3 separate regions of the Homo sapiens genome follow, and all the other regions are linked to region 3. The links are contacts of gene promoters, found by promoter capture Hi-C in blood cells and fetal thymus (Javierre and others, 2016). All regions are on one chromosome and are shown on one strand. The core of a region is centred on a gene start or on the middle of the fragment in contact, and the rest is flanking DNA. Distances in the headings are between cores, read along the strand shown.

Region 1 (4,116 bases), core at 1,466-3,965, 480 kb before region 3:
ATATTTGTGTCTTTGAACTGGCCTTGCCTAATAAAGATTAACAGTAAATTTTATGTTAATAATTTAATTTTTTTTTTTTTTTACTTAGGGTTGGAATAAATAGCAAATAAAAATACACTGTGGCAGTCAGGCGCAGTGGGTCTCGCTTGTAATCCCAGCACTTGGGGAGACCGAGGTGGGCAGATTCCTTGAGTTCTGGAGTTCAAGACCTGCCTGGGAAACATGGTGAAACATGTCTGCACAAAAATTAAAAAATTAGCTGGGCATGGTGTGCACCTGTAGTCCCAGCTACTCGGGAGGCTGAGGTGGGAGGATCGCTGAAGCTCAGGAGTTCAAGGCTGCAGTGAGCCGTGATTGTCCCACTGCATTCCAGCTTGGGCGACAGAGTGAGACCCTGTCTCAAAAAAAAAAAAAAAATCCCCAATATGGCTGGCAAGTCAAGACAGAGACTGCAGAAAAAAGAAAAAAGCTTTATATTTGAGTCCCTCTAGCAACAGTATTTTCTGCCTTTTAATCAAGGAGCCCCATATTTCTATTTTGTGGTGAGCCCCAAAAATTATTTAGCTGGTCCTGCCTATAAGGTATGAGATCCATAATACTTTCTACTCTGGTCTTCTCTGTTTTTAAGTGTTACTCATGGATACAAACACATAGAAATGATAAATACTTAAGGTGATGGATACCCCAAATACCCTGGCTTGATCATTACACGTTCTATGCCTGTGGCAAACAGTCACATGTACCCTATAAATATGTAACACATTATGTATCAGTAAAAGAAAAAAGCCAAGCGTGATGGCTCACGCCTGTAATCCCAGCACATTGGGAGGCCAAGGCAGGTGGATCTCTTGAGCCCGGCAGTTACAGACCAGCCTGGGCAACATGGTGAAATCCCGTCTCTACAAAAAATACAAAAATTAACCAGGAGCACACCTATGGTCCCAGCTACTTGGAAGGCTGAGGTGGGAGGATTGCTTGAACCTGGGAGGTTGAGGCTGCAGTGAGCTGTGATCATGCCACTGAACTCTAGACTAGACAACAGAGCAAGACCCTGTCTCAAAAAAAAAAAAAAAAAAAAGGAAATGGAAAAAACTATAACACATGTAAATACACGAAGAACACAAGAAATAATAATTAATAATGTCATAAAAATAATGCTATCTTTAGTAATCCATATTACTTTAGAATGGTCTAGTCCATGAGTGTGTGAAATAAAAGGAGTCATGTAAATTGGGTTAAAAAATGTTGCTCATGATCCACTAAATTGATTTCATGACCCTTAATGGGTTGTGACAGGCAGTTGGCAGAACCCTGCCCTAGAGGTTAGAGTGCATGGTTAACATTTCCCCAAACATTTTCTCTTCAACTAAACCAAAGTGCTTAGCAGCCAGATCTGGGGTCAGTCAAAGGTGATTTCACTTCCCCTTGAGGGAGACAATTAGAGGTATAAGGAAAGTCCTACCAGCACCTTCGAAAGGCTGCTTGACTAATTATTGTCATGGCTGCTAGAACCAATGAGATGGCTAATTTGGTCCCTCAAGGCCTTATACAAATGTCTCTTTGATCTTACCTCAGAAGTCTCTGTAACCCATCAAAGTAATACTTCAATTAAGTTTATCCCAAGGCTATCCCACGTACTGGGTCAGGAAGTCACCCCCTATTCAATTTCTCATCTAAAATTATGCTCAACTCAGTTATCCAAATAGGGTCACCAGACAGGATTATACAAGGCACGCTAAATATTAACATCCCACAGAGGAAGCTGCATTTCTAACAAAATTAATACTGTGATGGTTCAGAGCATGAGCTTAGAAGTCAATTAGATCAGATACTAATCCTAGCTCTGTCCCTCTCTTGGGCATGTAACTTAACTTTTCTGGGTATTGTTTTACTCATCTGTAAAATGGGAATATTCATATCTATAGTGTTGCTGTAAGGATTGATGTTTGCAAAGTGCCTAATAGCACTTAGTAACTTATAGCTGTTATTATTGCTGCTGTCTTTTCCAACAGAGATATTTAAGTAAAATTATCTAAAAAACATCTTCCTTATACGATTCTGTTTCTGTACTGTTCTGTCCAGCCAGAAGGGTCTTCCTTCAGTACCTGGTTCAGTGATTCTCAACTGGAGGCACTTTGCACACTGGGTGATATTTGACAATGTCTAAAGATGTTTTGGTTGTCATGACACGGGGTGAAGGGTGCCACTAGCATCAAGTGGATAGAGGCCAGGGATGCCATTAAACATCCTACAGTGCACAGCACCCCTTACCCCAGATACACACACAACAAAGAATTATACAGTCCAAAATGTCAAAAGAGCCAAGGTTGAGAAACCCTGCCTTGGTTGAAGCCTGGACCAGCATCTATTAGAAAGTGCATAGCTCCTTCAACACCTCCAAAATTGTTTTTTTCTGATTTTGAACAATTAAATTTTAGATTTTGTGATAATTTAGTCAGACCTGGCCTAAATTTGTCATCATGAAATTTCTAGGCAAATAATTAATAAACAAGATATATGTGTGTGTGTATCTGTGTCTATGTGTGTATATTAGTATAGTGGTGAGGGGTGATGGTGAGAAGTACTTCCTTGAAAGAATTAAGCAATTTTAAGTACTCCAGGAATAAATTACAAATGAATTTTGTCCACCCGTACAATGGAAATCCTATAGGAATCTCTATTAATCTACCTTTTAACCTACTTTAAATTACTGAGTGATTACATGAAATGAAACTGGTGCAAAATTCAACACCTCCAAAATTATATTACTCCAACCCCGTGACTCCTATCTTTCAAAGTTCCCAGAGCTATCACACTATATGGAACGACCAGGGAAAATTTTGATCCATTCATACTACAGAATATGATGCAATCATAAAAGGAATGAGAACGTTAGCATAATAGCTAATATTAATTCAGCATTCACGTGCTTTACATTCAGGATCTCATTTGGTTCCTATGGCATTATGAGGTAGATTCTATTATGATCACCACCACCTCCCACACAGTTTTACAGATAAGGAAACTGGAGGTGGAAGAGGTAAGGTGACAAGTAATTGAGGTTAGTTTCTTGAAACTTGAGAGTTTATTTTTGTTAACCAAAGATAAATAATTGCAGTATGGTGTAAGTCAATTGGGAGAAACAGATTCAACTGGCTTAATATAATTTTAAAGGCCTATATTTCTTCACTTGTGATTTACTTGCTTTAAGATCTTATTTTGAATAGACAGAAACTCTTCTTATTGAATTTCTCATTATTTTGATTTTTTATATATTCACTGGGGAACCATCAGTGCAGGCACCATGGAATGTAATTGAGATATTAAATCCAAGCTAAACATTTGAATACTTATCCTCAAATTATAATGCAGTGCTTCTCAAAGTGTGGTCTATGGACCCATACAATCCCTTGAGACAGTCTCAGGGGGTCCACAAAGTCAAAACTAATATAATATCAAAATATTATTCACTTTTTTCACTATGTTGAAGTTTGCACAGATAGTGCAAAAGCAATGGTGAGTAAAACTGCCAGCCCCTTAGAATGAATCAAGGCAGTGGAACTAAACCACTAACTTGTAGTGGTTTTTGTAGTCTTCAATAACACATTTTATTGTAGTCTTCGATACCACATACTCAGAGGGAAAAAAAGCAGTTTCATTTAAGAATGCCTTTGGAGAAAGAGCAAAAATTATTATTTTTATTAAATCCTTTTATATTGCATAGTAACGAAATGAGAAGTATGCATAACGTAGTTCCACTTTGCAATAAAGTATAGTGGTTGTTTCAGTGGAAAGCACTTGTCTAGTTGTTTGAGTTGAAAGATAAACGTAAAACATTCATTGATATGACTTCACATTCCACATTGCAACTAAACTTTAAGAACTACCAAGCCAAATGACTTCACTGGTGAATTCTACTACTCACTTAAATGTAAATAATAGTAAAACTATATAAACTCTTCCAAAAAGTTGGAGACAATAGAATACCTCTCAACTCATTCTTTGAGGCCTACATTTATCTGACACCAAAACTATGAAAAGAAATTACAAGAAAAGAAAAGGTCTGTGGTTACAAACTAATATCCCTTATAAACTTCGATGCAAAAATTCTTAACA
Region 2 (4,204 bases), core at 1,606-4,105, 300 kb after region 3:
TTTTAAGGGAGCCAGAGTACCAGGTGTGGTACTCAGAGACTGTCCTAGAATACTCAGAGAATAATCAGGGAAAGCCAACTATTCTACCTCAGGTCTTTGTTATAGGTGGGTTATTGAGGCAATGTGATAGCAACTGATGGAGGCACTTTCTCTCCCACTTCCTCTGCTAAGAGAGAAACCTGGAGTTAGACACATTGCATTCAGAGACTGTTAACATTGAAAGAGGCCTTGGACATCCTTTCATTGGACATCAGTCCCCCTTTCTCATTTCTTATTTTTGGAATATAGCTTAAATGTGTTTGTTAAAAATGCATGCACTGTCCTGTATGTGGAAAAAAGAAGGCAAATTATGTGCGGAGTGTTGTATGAGACTCTCTCAAAGAAAGCTGTGGTCCAAAATGCCATCAGGCATCCCAGTGTATGCTGCCCATTCCTGTGGGTGACACACCTGCCTGAGTATGACGTGCCTCCCTGCCCCTTGCAGGCATAGTTTCATTTAATTCTGATAGAATCCTATGAGGTAGCTACTATCATTATCCCCATACTACAGACAAAGAACTCGAGGCCTAGAGAGGTTAACGAATCTGCCCCAGGGTCCATAGTTACTCCATGAAACTATTGGGTATATTCACCTCCCAAAAGAAAAAAATGGGCAAGAGGTTGGGGTTGAGAGTTGAGACAGACTTCTAGTTCTCACTCTGCCACTAACTACCTGTATGACTTTGGGCAAGTCTTTCCAGCTCTATTTCATCATCCATTCATCAGTTACTGTGCTGGTTGTTTCCTGGCTTTACATTCAATTCCTTTTTCTGAAATCCTTACAGTTATTTGTGATTACTTGTAACTGGAGTTAAACTTTAGTTGTCCAGAAAAATAAAAATAGAAATGCAAAGTATCAAGGTGCTCCCAAATCAAACATACAGATGGCAGAGATCATCACAGAAATGACAATAAGGACCCTTTTTCCTGTTTGGCAAAGCTGAGTGTTGCTGCCACCTAGCGAGTAAAAGGAAGATGGCTATCATGCAAGGTCAGGCCCTTCTGTGGAGGCCCAGGGAAAAAGACCAGAAATCATCCAGTTTACCAAATATTAATAACTTATGAGATTTCACTAATATGTTAAAATTGCAGCATTTGCTTCAGTATATGCAAGCCAATATCTCTTCCGTTGAGAAAAATGGGATCAGGAGAAGAGCTACTCTGGGCAGTGTTAAGTAGGAGTTATTAAAGAGGAGGTCTTTAAGTAGGAGGTCTTTAAGTGTTAAGTAGGAAGTCTTTGGTTTCCTCCAAACATCTGCTTACACTGTGTCCTTTCCTACTGATCCTCTCCCTCTCCCAGCTGGAATCCTAGAACCCTAAGTCTGAGCAGGAAGGAACCATCATCAGAGAATTTCTAAGGCAGCCCGGGTCATAGCACAGAAGAAAACGGATTTGACCAAGGTCACAAAGGTAGTTAACATAGGCAAGACTGACAGAAGACTAGTCTCAGAACTCTGAAACCTGGTCTGATCAAATCCACCCAAAATGGATGAGATTAGATATTTGCAAAATCACCTTCAGTCTGGAGCAATATTAGGAGATACCATCAATGATATGAACATATATAAGGAAGCCAAGTCGTTCTGGTAGGGAGAAATGGGTGGTCTGGCTGGAAATCTGGAGAAACTGAAGCTGTTGGGAGCTTCAGGCACTAGAAGATGCTCTCTACTGGGATGAGGGAAGAAATCTCTCATCAGGACTCAGAGAGGTCAGGCTGAGTATAAAGGCCCCCCAGTCAACAGATCTCAATCTTCATCAGATACATTCCCACCCATCAGGGAGTGCCCAGGGCTCCCAGTGCACCAGATCTAATCTTACGGTTTCCTCTGCTATTAGGAAAGAATATCAGAAGTGAGATGAGAAGCAAAGCTTATTGCAGGATAACTTGAATCTGCTAGAATGTATTTTTAAAAATCAAAATATTTTATTATTATTATTAATCATTTGCAGCAAACTCACAGCTCCTAGTTTGGATGGCCCCCATTCTTGCAATGATTCCTTTTTTTTTTTTTCGAGACAGATTCTGGTTTTGTCGCCCAGGCTTGAGTGCAGTGGCACAATTATGGCTCACTGCAACCTCCTCTGCCTCCCGGGTTCAAGTGAGAGGCTCATGCCTCAGCCTCCCAAGTAGCTGGGATTACAGGCGCATGACACCATACCCAGCTAATTTTTTAAAATATTTCTAGTAGAGATGGGTTTTCACCATGTTGGCCAGGCTGGTTGGTCTCAAACTCCTGGCCTCAAGTGATCTGCCTGCCTTGGCCTCCCAAAGTGCTGGGATTACAGGCTTGAGCCACTGTGCCCAGCCTGGAATAGCTCTTTGCACTGTCAACAACCTAAGTAATAACAATAATGATGATAATAATAGCTGATATCACCAAGGGCATTCATTGTGTTAGGGACTTTCCAGTCGTTATCTCATATATCTGACAATAGCCCAATGAAGTCATAATTATTATGACCCCTATTTTATAGCTGAGTAAGTTGAGGCTCAGAAAGCAGTTTGCCCAAGGTCACATAGCTCTCCCTGACCATCTCAGCTCTTAATCACTGCCCTATACTCACTGAAGGCTTGGCTTCTGAGATGCACTAATACCAGGAGGCAGGAGGTGAGTGTATCCTCTAACTAGTGGACATGTATATTTTTAACTCTAGGAAGAGATTCCCTCCTTGCCATCCCTAGACTTTGTTGTAAATTAACACATAGGCATTCCAGGATTACAGCCTCTCCTCAGGAAACTGATGGATCACTTGGTAGGCTAGTTGCCTGTAAGGGGAGAGATTACCTCTGGAAAACATTTTCCCTAATGTACAGAAAATTGTTTTCTGGGTGGGGATAGAGCGGGAGACAAACTGTAGGAGGATAGGTGACTAATTAAGGGGAAGAATTTTTGATTATCTGTTGTTTCAGATTATCAGAGTAATCGCTTCTGTCTATTAACATGGATAATTAAGAATTGACTGTGTAGTTAAGTAATTCAAACCTTCCTCTCTCACACACAAAATTCTCTTCAGTAATAAACAAGCATGCACAGAATTATTCACTGAAATAAATGGACTTCCTTCTTGTGTTTGTCAAATACAATCCCCTCTTCCTCTCACTGAATTACCAATTTAGATGAAGAGGTTCCTTAAACAAGAATCTATGTATGTATGTATGTATGTATGTATCTATTCATCTATCATCTGTTCTATATCTATGTAATATGAACCGAATATGCACTACAATGATTTTACTCTTGCTCTCACCTCCCCCCCCCCCTTTATTTTTGAGACAGTCTCGCTCTATTGCCCAGACTGGAGTGCAGTGGCACCATCTCGGCTCACTGCAAACGCCACCTCCTGGGTTCAAGCAATTCTCCTGCCTCAGCCTCCCAAGTAGCTGGGGTTACAGGCATGCACCACCACACCCGGCTATTTTTTTTTTTTTTTGTATTTTTAGTAGAGATGGGGTTTCACCATGCTGGCCAGGCTGGTCTCGAACTCTTGGCGTCAAGTAATCCACCCACCGTGGCCTCCCAAATCGCTGGGATTACAAGCATGAGCCACCATGCCTAGACCTCTCACGACCCTCTTTTGACATTTTTTTGGTTCCTTAGGCAAATAATATATACTAAATCAAGTATAATATTTTATGTTGTTACTCTATGGTTTTTCTTAAGGCAGAGAATAATTAACAGGACAGTTAGAAAATGTGAACAGGAAATAGTTGAATACAAGCTGAGAATGTTGCTAAAAAAGAGGAAGTGAGTTGGAAACTAAAGGAAGCTTTGTGTTTGGAGGGTCATCAAAGGAGAAAAGGGTTCTTTTAAAAAAAAAATAGAGGACTCACCTCATGCCTAGACTCCATGTACTAAGTCTGGAGTACAAGCAGAATTTTCAGCTGTTTCCGGAAACAAGCCTGAGGGGCACATAGACCACAAGTTCCCCTCCAGGGGTTGAGAGAATGTCTTACTTAACATGAAATTCTCCCATGTTTTCTAGCCTAGTGCTTGGCATGTTTTAGGTACCCAGTAAATATTTGGTAAGTCAAAATGAACTTTGTAATTGAGTTCCAGGCTTTGAGAATCAAGTTGGTGATTAAAAATCAAAACAAAACAAAACAACAGCAAAATAAATGAGAAATGATGGAGACTTCATTTTAGAGTGTGAAGGGAAGATTGCA
Region 3 (4,154 bases), core at 1,111-3,610:
CACCACCACCAACCACACAGTATGGACAAAATAATACTGGTATGGAAATGGTTCTCCTGAGAGGATACGCTGGGGCAGTGGTGGAATAGGAATTCCATGAAATCAATTTCTGCCTCTACTAGTTAATTATAATTCCGCTGCTGCTGCCTTAACCTCAGGAGGCAGCAAGGGATAAAAGAAAAGGATCAGGATTTGGAAACTGGTAAGCCTAAATCAGTGCCAGCTCTTCAATTTACTATAATTTCATTTAATTAAAGAAGCCCGCAGTGATCATAATACATATCTCAAGTTCAGAGTGTTAAAATGGTGGGTGTCTTAGAATCAAAGAAATACAGTATCTATTTTTTTCATTACCTGAATTTCCACAACAGTAAAATGAGAATAATGTGAGGTGAGGATTAAACAAGATACAGTAAATGACTGGTGCCCTACTGTAACAAAGTTCATTACAGCAAAGATGAGCATGCCACAGCACCACATTGTGCTATCTGCTGCTACAGTCTGACATGACACACTTAGTCTTAAAGTTACATATTACTCTCTCCCTAACATGAGCATTATATATAAAGAGGTCTCACTGCAGTGGCAAATCCACAAGGCATTCTCATCACCCAAAACATAAAATACAAAAATCTTAATTCTAGATGAACCTAGGACAATCCCTATTTAATAACGTACTTTGGACTAAATAATTCAAACTGTTTTTGAGTGCATGTGTATTGACTCTTGAAGAAGAATGTGTTTAGAGACATTTCTTAAGTTTTAACCTACAGCTCTGTCATAAAGACAAGTGTAAAAGAAACATCAAACCAACACCAAAAATCGATTTTGACTAATCTCCTATCTGGTTCAATTCCTAGCTAGCTTGCTAGTTTGCATGAAGCCTCGCCTGCTTCTAACACTACCTTTAACCAGGAATTTCCTCATCTGTAAAATGAAGGGGTTGGACTTCAGTGAACTCCAAAGGCCCTTCTCGCCCCACAATCATATAATTCTACAGTTAAAGCTTACTGTAGAAAATGACACAGTACTCCAGTGTATCCTAATCTCTTCCAGGACAGTGTTTCTCAAACTAATGCGCATACAAATCACCCTGGGATCTTATTAAAACCCAGATTCTGATTGAACAGGTCTGGCCTGAGTATCTTCTAATTACCTGCCAGGTGGTGCTCATGATGCTGGTCTGTTGATCACACTGTAAGCAGCAAGGATCTAGGATACTTTCCTTAACCTCCCAGTTCCCCCAAAATATGACTGTCCCTGCTTCCATGCATCCTTATATACTTTTAGCATATCACTTTATTGTAACTACTTCTTGATCCACTTGTTTTCCTTTAGACTTTGAACTGGCTCAGGGCATCACTGTATCTCTAGCACCTAAACACAGCGCAATTTCAAACAGCGACCCAAAACTGAATTTCATAACGCAGTGTAGCACAAATCTTTTGCCCAACGTCACACAGATGTAGCGGTAATGCAAGTTTTTAACAACCAGTCCTTTAGACTCCCAGTCCAGTGCTCTTTCTCCTGTACCACAGTGCCTCCCTGAGGCAATCGGTCACTTAACTACTCAGTCTCTGCCTGGACAGCCCAAGAGTGCCCAAGATGTTGTCCACTTGGTTGTCGTGGGACCATGAGCAACCAGAGTCCTCAATCTCACAACTGTGCCTGATCTGCCCCATGCTGGATCTGACATCACTTGTCCTGGATTCCTGGAGACTCCTATTCTGAACCCTCTCCCAGACACCTCCTTCCAACCTTCCTGCAATTTCAGGTGCCACACTCTCTCCAAATTCAAACTCCGAACCTTCCACTGGGAACTCCTGCACTGATTTTCTTAGTCACCCCAAACTGTAAGGTCTCAAAGGACCATTAATCTGACACTCGGTCCGATGGTCCCTTAGAAGTGCGCCCACACACCGCCCCTAGGGTTCCACACCGAAGCGGTCCCCGTGCCCCAGGCACTTACGCTGCGCAGCGGAAAAGGCGGCGTGGGCTAGGGCAAAGAGACCGATGCCCACCAGCCCCTTCCACAGCGACGGCGCCATGATGCCGAAGGAGCAGCAGCCCAGCAAAAGAAGCGAAGGACGGCGGAGCTGTTTCTTCTTCCACCGGCGGGTGTCCGCGCGCCGCAGAAAGATGACGTCACTGAAGTCCTGAGCGCAAAGTGTCTCAGTGGTGGAAAAGCCAGAGGGCTGTGAGAAAACGGAAACAGGAATGCCGGGAAGAAGCAGAAAGCTACACGGAAAAAGGTCCGCGAGAACCCACGAACCTGCGCTATGGAGGCCTCTCTAGGAGGGCCGGAGCCCAACGGAGTCATAAACGAAGAGGCGAAAGCGGGAGCTACGGGGAAGCGAAGAGGAAGGGCGCCGGCAAATGGGGGCAGGGCCAGTGGCGAGAACAGGGTGGGGCAGAGGGACGGGGGCCTGCGTAGAGAACGTGTGGGGGCGAGGGGCGGGGTAGGCAGACGGGCGGGGTGGGGAAGACGCGCGGGGCCCGCACGAGGGTGGGTGTAGCCGAGGGGCGGGGCCAGTGGGTGGGTGGGTGGGCGTAGCCGGGGGGGGGGGGCCCTGGTGGGTGCGGTCGAGTGGCGGGGCCTGCGGGGAGGATGGGTGGGGCCGAGGGGCGGGGAGGAGGTGGGGCCGAGGGGCGGGGAGGAGGTGGGGCCGAGGGGCGGGGAGGAGGTGGGGCCGAGGGCGGGGCCTACGGGAGGATGGGTGGGGCGTAGGGGGCGGGGCGGAGGGGACGGAGAGTGGGTGAGGGCCGAGGGGGCGGGGAGGAGGTGGGACCGAGGGGCGGGGAGGAGGTGGGACCGAGGGGGCGCGGAGGAGTGGGACCGAGGGGGCGGGGAGGAGGTGGGGCCGAGGGGCGGGAGGAGGTGGGGCCGAGGGGCGGGGCTGGGGGCGTTGGGGAAAGGCGGTAGGTGCTGGATATAGACCCCTGACAGTTGTGTTTTGTGGGTTGGTTGGTTTTGGCTTTTTGTGAAACTGTGCCTTTTGTTTTCTGTAGGCCTTTCCTGTGCTTCAGCTCCCTGGAAACTGGCACTGCAGAAGGAGGCAAGGGTGTTAAAACGAGGAGGCAGTGTCAGGACAAAATCCCAGGATCTGGAACCCCAAATACTTGGCTCGCGGGAAGTGCTCAGTAAACCATTTTAAGGTCCTGGAGAAAGATTCGCGCAAAAAGAGGTGTAGCGCGGGGGGAGTGTTTTGTCGTGAAAAGAACCAGCTTACATTAAGGAAGAAATGAAAGAGGAAATTTTAAAATGCTAATAACGCAGCCTTCTTGCCTTGTCTCTATCTCTGATCCGGGTAAAATGTATACTCCTCTGCCCATTTTTCTTTGTCTTCATCTCCTGAAATGTAGACATTTAATAGTGAGCTTCTCCCCTTGACCTCATCACTCTGCTGTCCCCTGGGGAGCTCACCCATTCATTCCCACCGCTTCAGCCAGCAAAGGTATTACAGTGATTCCAAATCGACATCTCTATCACAAATATCTCTCCTTAGCTCCAGGGCTGCATTTCTGACTACCAGATAGGCATTTATTTCCTGTGGCACTTAAAACGTAATATGGCTAAAATGGAATTCATCCTTTTTTTCCAAATTCTGCACCAGTTCCTCCAGTGACCCCTGACTGAGTGGCAAAGCTTTGTAAACTGCATATCACAAGGTAAATGCAAAGTATGATCACCATTCTTTTCCTTTAACCCAATCAGAATTCTACGTTTTAGTTGCATCAATTTGCTTTTGCTCAAAGATGCGTCCTATCCTGACCACCCCTTTTAAATGTGCAAAATTCCTATTCCTGATCCCCTTATTCTGTTCTACTTTTTATATCACCTTCTAACATACTATATAATTTAACTATTTATGTTTGTTGTGTTACTGTTTACTGTCTGTCTTTCCCCACTGGAATGTAAGCTCTGAGAGAACAGAGATTTCTCTGTACCTAAAACTTTGACTGTCATGTGATAAGCATTCAATAAGTGCTTGTTGAATGACAAATGAATTCCGGAAAATAATTGGGACAGTATCCCTATTTGAAAGGATCTCTACAGAGAGTCCTTCCAATCTTTTGAATTGGGCTCAAAAATCCCCATGGACTTGCATGTACTCTCACATTTTGACAACCTTTTGATTGTAAACATTTTCTGA

Evidence for each region. The method cuts DNA at HindIII sites, captures the fragments that hold promoters and counts their contacts. A CHiCAGO score of 5 or more calls a contact.
Region 1: a contact is called between a fragment that was not itself captured here and the fragment with the promoter of MMGT1 in region 3, in 1 of 17 cell types (monocytes). The highest score is 6.5, in monocytes.
Region 2: a contact is called between a fragment that was not itself captured here and the fragment with the promoter of MMGT1 in region 3, in 4 of 17 cell types (naive B cells, M2 macrophages, total B cells and 1 more). The highest score is 8.5, in naive B cells.

The regions. Positions count from the first base shown.
Region 1 is chrX:135,488,326-135,492,441 of GRCh38, forward strand. No RefSeq gene overlaps it. Among named protein-coding and RNA genes, the nearest start is that of INTS6L, 30 kb to the right of the region's middle. RefSeq lists an enhancer at 1,232-1,281. The HindIII fragment of the contact is 4,497 bases long and covers 468-4,116 here.
Region 2 is chrX:136,267,648-136,271,851 of GRCh38, forward strand. No RefSeq gene overlaps it. Among named protein-coding and RNA genes, the nearest start is that of MAP7D3, 18 kb to the left of the region's middle. The HindIII fragment of the contact is 1,899 bases long and covers 1,907-3,805 here.
Region 3 is chrX:135,971,628-135,975,781 of GRCh38, forward strand. It overlaps MMGT1 (membrane magnesium transporter 1), which reads right to left and starts at 2,361. Exons shown (of 4, transcript NM_173470.3): 1 at 1,970-2,361. The coding sequence starts at 2,048. It also overlaps a transcript of SLC9A6 not described here. RefSeq lists an enhancer at 1,910-2,439 and a silencer at 2,450-2,559. The HindIII fragment of the contact is 2,640 bases long and covers 1,005-3,644 here.